Regions from separate parts of the Homo sapiens genome. Here region 1 is linked to region 2. The links are contacts of gene promoters, found by promoter capture Hi-C in blood cells and fetal thymus (Javierre and others, 2016). All regions are on one chromosome and are shown on one strand. The core of a region is centred on a gene start or on the middle of the fragment in contact, and the rest is flanking DNA. Distances in the headings are between cores, read along the strand shown.

Region 1 (4,028 bases), core at 1,132-3,631, 2.9 Mb after region 2:
GTGACTGTCTTCCATGTCCCTGGCCCTATAGATGCAGCGGTAAGTGGGATATGGGGTTTAGAAAGGTTTCTCGGAAGAGATGATCCTTGTAGTGAGTCTTAGTGGGATGATCAGGAGCTAGTCCTGCCAGTGATCCTTCTTCCAGTCTTACCAAGCCATATGTGCAAAGGCTAGAAAGTGAGAGGAAGCACAGTCTGTCTGGGAAACTCCTGGAGTCCAGTCCTCTCAGCTGGGATGGGGGTGTGAGATCTGCTGGAGTCAAAGTACAGATTCAAGGAGAACCCAGCAGTTTGGAAAAAAGGACAGAAAGTTGTAATTAGGGCCAGACCAATTGTTAAGGCAAATGTCTTATTCCCAGTTTTTGTGAACTGTTGTTCCTCAAGAACCACTGGGCATGTGGGGGAAAGCCCCAGGAGTTTTATGAGGTAGTAATTTCCCCATCACTGCAAGTGTCCATGAAGAGACAAACTCCCAGGTCATAGATATTGTATAGGGATGAGGCCATGGGGAAAATGACGGTGGGGAATTCTGCATTGAATGAGAGTCTGGACTGACCTTCAAAGATTTTTTTAGAGTGCTAAAATGAAAAATATCTCTATTTGGAAACCCGCAGAAAATGCATTTATACAGGCCTCCCTCTGTACTGTCAAAATCATGCTAAGACAGTTATTTGAAATTTGAAACCCTTTTAAATAGGGCCTGATCTGAGAATTCAGGCATAATTAATAATTCCATCTCCATGGGAAAGTACATTTGAAAGGAAAAATAGATGGGGACTCCTCCCTGTCTTTGTCATGGCCCTGCTGTGTGTCCTGGGTGTTTGCCCATCTGACCCCCTTCCCTGTGCTGATGTGCTGCTGTCTGAAGGGTGCTGGGGAGGGAAAGCAGTCCTCTCTCTCTCTCTCTCTATCTTCAGTGAAAAGATCCTGGTTAGGCGGGGCACGGTGGCTCACGCCTGTAATCCCAGCCCGTTGGGAGGCTGAGGCGGGCAGATCACAAGGTCAGGAGATCAAGACCATCTTGGCCAACATGGTGAAACCCCATCTCTACTAAAATACAAAAAATTAGCCAGGCGTGGTTGCGCGTGCCTATAATCCCAGCTACTTGGGAGGCTGAGGCAGGGGAATCGCTTGAACTCGGGAGGTGGAGGTTGCAGTGAGCTGAGATCGTGCCACTGCACTCCAGCCTGGCGACAGAGCAAGACTCCGTCTCAAAAAAAAAAAAAAAAAAAAAGATCCTGGTTAAAAAGGCCTTCCCCAAAGGCCCAGAATTTAATTTTACTCAGCTGTGGCAGTTTCATCAGAACATAAGCATTGATTTGCTGAAGTTCCTGTTTGTCAGTACAGCCTTTTTAAAAGTCAGAGGGCAAGAATTGTTTCAGCTCGTTTGTTTTATGGCTTGGTAACTGTCCCTGTTACTGCTCTCCCCCGCCCCGTCTAACCCCCTGCACATCCTTTTAACACTAGTCTCATCAAATGCAGGATTCATCCTACACAGTTAGGTGTTTCCTGTCTGGTTAACCTTTAGTAGTCACCAAGTTGTTTTCCCTTGTCAGCAAGCTGCATTAATTTTTAAAAACTCTTTTAAAAATAAGCAATTATTTACATTTCCTATGGAGACAGGTCATATTTAATGTTGGGATTTCTGTATTTACAATGAATATACAATTGATTTGTGTTTTATTCATTAGGCGTCTATTCTGTGTTGATGGTGGGGGAAAACAAGGAAGATTAGTGGTTGTTTCTGTTCTTTTTTTTTTTTTTTAACTTGTCTTGATTTTAAAAAACGAAGGCTGGGCACGGTGGCACACGCCTGTAATCCCAGCAATTTGGGAGGCCGAGGCAGTTCGATCACTTGAGGCTTGGAGTTCGAGACCAGCCTGGCCAACATGGCAAAACCCCATCTCTACTAAAAATTCAAAAATTAGCTGGGCGTGGTGGCGCAAACCTGTAATCCCAGCTACTGGGGAGGCTGAGGCACGAGAATCACTTGAACCCGGGAGGCGGAGGTTACAGTGAGCCGAGATTATGCCACTGCACTCTAGCCTGGGTGACAGAGGGAGACTCTGTCTCAAAAAACAAAACAAAACAAAACAAAAAGAATTGGATACTTCAGGAGTTCTAAATTGAAATGTTTCTATTACTGTAAACTAAATTGTTTGGTATTTAAATCTTCTACATTCTATTTGTTTTTGAGTGGCAATATATTCAAAGTTCAGAAGGTGTAGAGTGGTGTGTGTAGTGGAAATGCTTCCTTCTGCTTCTGTCTCCCCAGGTCCCTCAGAAGCAGCCAGTATTACCGGTTTTTTGTATACCCTCCCGGAGACAGATGTAACTGTCAACTGATTTTTTAAAACGTGTTTCATCACTCATTAAATCTAGTGTAGTGACAAAAATGGTAAATTTTTTCCCTGCATCTTTAAAAACATATGCTGTGTTTGAATGGCAATTATGAAAAGTCATTTGTTTTTCCTGGGGCCGTGGACCTAGCGTAACAAATGGTAGCCCTCAGGGGAACTAGCATCTGTGTCCTAAGTGAAGGAATAAGATGTAGACTTCCCTTTCCTATGGGTTGCCTTAATTTTTGTATATATAGAGCAGATTCTCTCAGAGATGGGAATAACTCTCTAGCTCTTAGTGTAAAAATATTATCAGACCCATTTCTCTGTGTTCTTGTCGAGAAGGTTCTAAAAGGAAAAGAGGCTGGTATAAATTGCCCAGAGAAAAATTCCTAGAACCATTTAGTCAAACTACTGGCTAAGATCTTGCTGGGAGGTAGCCTGTATTTGTGGTGTGGTCCTGTGTTCCCAGTGGGACTGAAGTGGATTGGAGGGCCGTGCTGTGCCTGCTGTTGGGTAGCATCACTTTGAGCTGGATGACGAAGGACTTTCCCCAAACCTGTCCTCTGTTGTACACATCCCCACACCCAAAACCTTCCTAACATTGTCACTTTCCGAGGTCAAATGTACAGATAAATACAGGGTATATAGGACCCATTCCACCTTAAAGCCAACAGCATTGTGTCAGCCGGGGTGGCCTTTCCTACGAGAGGGCATTATTCACAGCCAGTAATTACAATGAATGAAGGAAGAAACCATCTTCCTTTCAGTTATGAATTCTTCAGTAATATTTAATGAGGGGTGGGTGGACCAAAGACACTTCCTTCCCTTCTGAAGAGGATTTAGAGTGGAGTGGTAAGGGGGAGGAATTGGACTGCTTCCCTTTAGAATTCTGCCCCTCCTCTCCTTTTTAAGGAAAATGTCCCTAAGGAGCTCACTATAACCAGGCGGTTCTTTAAACTGACAACTGCCTGTGAAGTGTTGATGGATTTCCTGGCAAATAAAACAGCAGGACCCTTCTTTAGCGACTACCTTACTGGAGCTTTTTAGCCCAATTTTAGTTCAGAGTGGTCCTGGCAAGGTTTTTAAAGGAATTGGTGTGATTATTCATAACAATTAAATTTTGCTTATTAATAAACAAGTAAGTAACCTGCCTTCTTGGTCACCGCTTCCCCCCTCCCCAAGGTGCGAGGCCCAGAGATAAGGCAAGTTGTGCCTTGCTGAGGAGGGTGTGTACCAGTGAGAAACAGGAAGCTGTGCTTCAGCAGCTTGGTCTGCCTGGAGGTTTCTAAGGCTGAGTCAGGTGTGCTGAGGTCCCTCGGCAAGGGACGCTGCTTTCCCCTGGCAGCCACACTGCTGAGCATAAATGCTTTAAAGTGTCAGCAATTGATGTGTGGAGAGAAGTATGACTGCATTACAGCTTAAAGAGCTTTCACATTCAGGTCTCTACAGGAGAAGACGAGATCGCCCCGATAGTTTGAGAGTAAATGGGTTACCAGAGGAAGAGCTAAGGTGAGTGCAAAGTCATGGTTGGCTAAAGGTCAAGACATCTAATCTAGTAAGTGCAGTGGGGATTCATGCCTAAGTGGATGCAGCGTTGGGAAGTACTCATTGAAAAGTAGCCTCTTAGTCTGTAATTAAAAACTGAACACAATATCAAGATTGTACTGATTGGAACTGTGCAAAACCA
Region 2 (4,068 bases), core at 134-2,633:
GCTTGTACCTGATTCCTGCTCAGTGTACTGTGCTTCCTTCCACTTACTGAGCTATTGAGGGCTACCTACTGCCAGGGTACTTCACATAGGAGGTAAGTAAATATTATCTCCCCATATGACAGATTTTAGAAAGGCTGAGGACCACCTGTGCAACGTTACACAGTTCAGGAAGTCAACAGTCAAACACTCACCTGTCTGACTTCAAAGCTACGCTGACTCTAGTTACCTATCCTTGGGTACTTCCCTTCTGGAAGGAAGCAGGAGATGAGTGAATCAAATAATACAGCCTTGTAACCTTGGGTAAATTATTATTGCCTTAATAGTAAGCAGAGACCAGGAGCCTAAGAAAGAATCTCATTAACATGGATGCAGGCTATCCTGCCAGGAAATCAGAATCATTTGAATATTAGGATTTCCTTTGGGAAACCATATGGGGAGGAGAAAAGACATCCGGATGCATGTGTCTGTGAAAGGGAAACTTGTGTCTTTCCCCTTGCTCTTGGGTTTTCATCTTCCAAGTTTGTTTATAGGCTAGCCACAACTCGAGGCTGGGTGAGCTGAACGGTCCCATCATTAGCGACACTCCTTCTAGGGGCACATTCGGGCAGCTCCTCTTCGGGTTCTGCCCCCACGGGTGTGCAACCAGGATTCCACAGGCTGGGGCTGGCCTGGATGCCTGGGAGGCAACAGAGGTCGAGTTTCTTCTTCTTTTAGGAAGTGCCTCGGACAGGGATGATGGACTAAAAATGTGTCTGGTTGGGAAAGTAAATAGATGCAAAGCAAATAAATAAAAATGCCCACAAGCAATTACAGGGAGGAAGTGACATTTTTATTTAAGTCACTTTTCTGATGGACAACAGGCCTGCTTAGCTGAGTGCCGTGGGAATGCTTCCGGGAGGGGGGCGGCTGCCCAGCAACTAGAGCTTCGTGATAAGAACAACGAACAAACAAAAAAGAGGACGCAAAGCCCACCCGGCAGTCATCCCAGGCTGGAAGTTGCCGTCTGTGTTTTCACTCTCCTCCCCACCCACCTACCCTGCCCCCCACCGCCCGCACGCAATTTCGGGCGTGGGGACCCTTTCCTGCCCCCGGCGCCCGGCCCGTGCTGCGCCTCCAGAGCGGAGCGTCCCGCAGCCCCGCGCTATCCCGGCGCCCGTACCGGGACCCGGGCGCGGAGCCTGGCGACGACGGGGGGCGCCCCAGGTGGGTCTCGGGTCCCCGCCCCGCGCGCCCGGGCCTGGGCCGGCCCCTGGGCGGCGTCACGGCGCGGCCGGGGAGGAGCGCGGGAGGAGGAGGAAGAGCGCGGAGGAGGCGGGCGCTGCGCGCCGGGGGAGGGTCGCCGCCGCCGCCGCCGCCGCCGCCGCCGCTGCCGCGGGGATCGTCAGGCCGGAGCCGCGCGGCCGAGCGGGCGGCGGGCGGAGGGGAGGGCTTGGCGGCCGGGAGGCTCGCGGCGCCCGGGCCGGCAGGGTCCGCCCGGGCCGGCAGCGTCCGCCCGGCGGCGGGAGGAGGGAGCGGCGCAGACAAAGAGCGGCGCCTGGGCGGGCGCAGCGCGGCCACCGCCCCGGGACCCGCGCCGCTGCCCTCCGGCTCCGCGGGCGGCCCACGGCGAGGTAAGCGCGGCTAGGCGGGCGTGGGGCGGGGGCCACAAACTTGGGGCCGTTGGGCGGAGTTGGGAGCGCGGCGGGGCTCGCGGGCCGGGGTGCGCCCGGGAAGGGGCCAGGAGAGCGGGTCCCCTCCGCGCCCCTCCGGTGCTCTCGGCCCTGCCGCGGCCTGGGCGCCCCCGACCGCGGACTGCCGGGCACCTCCCGGCTCTGCACCTTCCTGCCCGCCTTCCCATCCCTAACCCCCACCATCGGGGGCCGGCCCAGGGGCGGGGACGCCAGCCAAGGGCGCGGGCGAGGATCAGGGCAGGGGGCCCGGCTGCGGGGCCCGGGGACTGGAGACCCCCGGGTGCGCAGGCTGCGCCTGGCCTGCAGGCGGGCGGCCGGCACGGAGCTCGGGGCTAGCGTGGGACCGTGCGGTGGCCAGGGTCGCCAGGGCGCGTGTGCCGGGGAAGAATAGCCGCGGATCGCAGGGCCCCGGCGCAGGGACGGGGGAGGCCGCGATCGGCCGGGAGAACTTAACCGTGTTTATTACAACTATTTATGTTCGCGCACAAAGCTGCTGTCACATTGCATAAAGGAGGTCCTCGCTTCGGCGAAGGGAGCTTTTGTGCCCGGCTTCAGGCTCTGCGCCCTGCCCCAGATTTACAGGACTCTAACAGCCACCTGAATGAACCAAAGTTTCTCACAATCGCTCGGCTCTCTCGGTTTTTTTCAGGGCGATTTAATCACCGAGTGCTTTTGGAAAAATTTGATATGTGAGTTTTAAGGCATGGAGGGTAACTGCCTTATGAGCACAGTTAGCTTGGCATTGTGTGGAGGGGTTTAATTTGCAAAACGCTTTAATTTGTAGACAATGGGGATCTCTGTGAAGGTCTGCGGTGGATGCTAGGGGTCATTGGCTGGTGGACCCCAGGCACCTGACTTAAACTAGTATTGTAACAGCTTCAGGGACAAAGCCGAGCGTGCGTGGAGTCGGCCTTGGCCACTTCACACAATTCAGGTTGGCAGATTCCTCTTTATTTGGCTTTGTTTATTTTGCCAACAGGTTTAAGGCTGCTTCTGCCAAGTTTGCATCTGCATAATGGGATGAGCAGGCCCCAGTGTGGGCAGGAGGGGGCCTAAAATATCGCAAGGGCCAGCTCCGTCCCTCGACCCAGAAAGAAACAACCCTGAGAGGCCGGTGGGCGTGGCTTGCTGGGACCTACAGGTAGGGGAGTCCCTTCCTGGCCCAGGCGCAGTCCCCGCTTCTCGGAAGGGATTTTGTGTAGGAATGAAAGTGATTCAGGGTGTTTTTCATGCCTCTGTTTTAGATGTAGTTATCAAGTCTCAAAAGTGACTGAAAATGAAATTAACCTGGGCCGCTTTAACTTACCAAAACGGAACTGTGCGTGTGAACACTCCCTCAATTCACTTTGCAAGCTTCATAGATAAGCAGGTGAATTAGTAACAGGATTCAAGCCTTGCGAGTTTTACGTAAAGAGAATGGCAGTCATCGGACACGTGGAGAAGAAATTGACTTCACCTGGAGATTGGGCTAGACATGGAGGTTTTTTGACGTTTGGAACAGGGGTTTCCTGAGAAGCAAGTGTTAACCTGCTTGTGAAGAAGTGAACACGAGGGAAAATCCTACCTCAGTATATTCTGCCCTGGAGGTTGGTTAGATGTAGTTTTGATTGGAGAAGGTGGCGGAATCTTAGTGGTCTTCTGGCGGCTACTTGAGGCTGAAATGGAGAACTTTAGGCATAGGAAGCTGTGGAGGTGCCTGGCCCACTTCCTGTCCCGGAGGCCTCGCCTGGATTCTGAGCTTCTTTCCTGCTTCATAAACATTCAGGGGGGTTGGTCATGAAACACTGGATGAAATTGGGTCACAAATTGCCATCAGGAAGAGTTGGCTGCTGCATAACCCCCTCTGTCCACTTGTGGAGAAACTGACCCTGTTAACCGTCGGGCTTGCTGAAGGTGCCTTGCAGGTGGCTGTGCTCAGTTTTCATGCTTTGTGTTTTGCTTAGGACACGCTGCATACTTAAATCTTCTTCATCCTTGCTCTGTTTGACCCTGCCATATTCCCAGGCTTTGTCATTTACATTTTCGGTTATTTAGCTTTTCCAACAAACAGCAGATCTTATGTACACAGTACTATATTTGAGAAATGCACTACCATCCATATTAAATACACCGGAAATCTTCCTTGCATGTGCACAGACTGGATAACCTTTTAAAATACCCTAAGACTCCCGGAATGGCGCAGAATGCACTGGAGTCCTTTACTTGATCAGTTGCACTAGCTTAGTTTGCCCTGGATAGACCAGGCTGCGAGGCTCTATGGGACACCCATTTTTCTAACTGCTCAAACTGGCTTGCCGTGTGCACTGGGGGAGACAGGGCTTGCGGAAATCATTCTCTGACATTAAAAATGAGGCTTAAAGACTGAAGAGCTCAGAATTGCTTGCTGGAACTACAGGGG

The links. The method cuts DNA at HindIII sites, captures the fragments that hold promoters and counts their contacts. A CHiCAGO score of 5 or more calls a contact.
Region 1: a fragment that was not itself captured here is called in contact with the fragment with the promoter of NCK2 in region 2 in 1 of 17 cell types (activated CD4 T cells); the score reaches 5.1 in activated CD4 T cells.

What each region holds. Positions count from the first base shown.
Region 1 is chr2:108,617,612-108,621,639 of GRCh38, forward strand. All of the region lies in intron 1 of LIMS1 (LIM zinc finger domain containing 1), which reads left to right. Among named protein-coding and RNA genes, the nearest start is that of LIMS1-AS1, 59 kb to the right of the region's middle. The HindIII fragment of the contact is 4,794 bases long and covers 1-4,028 here.
Region 2 is chr2:105,743,529-105,747,596 of GRCh38, forward strand. It overlaps NCK2 (NCK adaptor protein 2), which reads left to right and starts at 1,384. Exons shown (of 5, transcript NM_003581.5): 1 at 1,384-1,610. RefSeq lists silencers at 1,035-1,354, 1,545-1,604, 1,715-2,104 and enhancers at 2,475-2,544, 2,645-2,694. The HindIII fragment of the contact is 4,864 bases long and covers 1-3,021 here.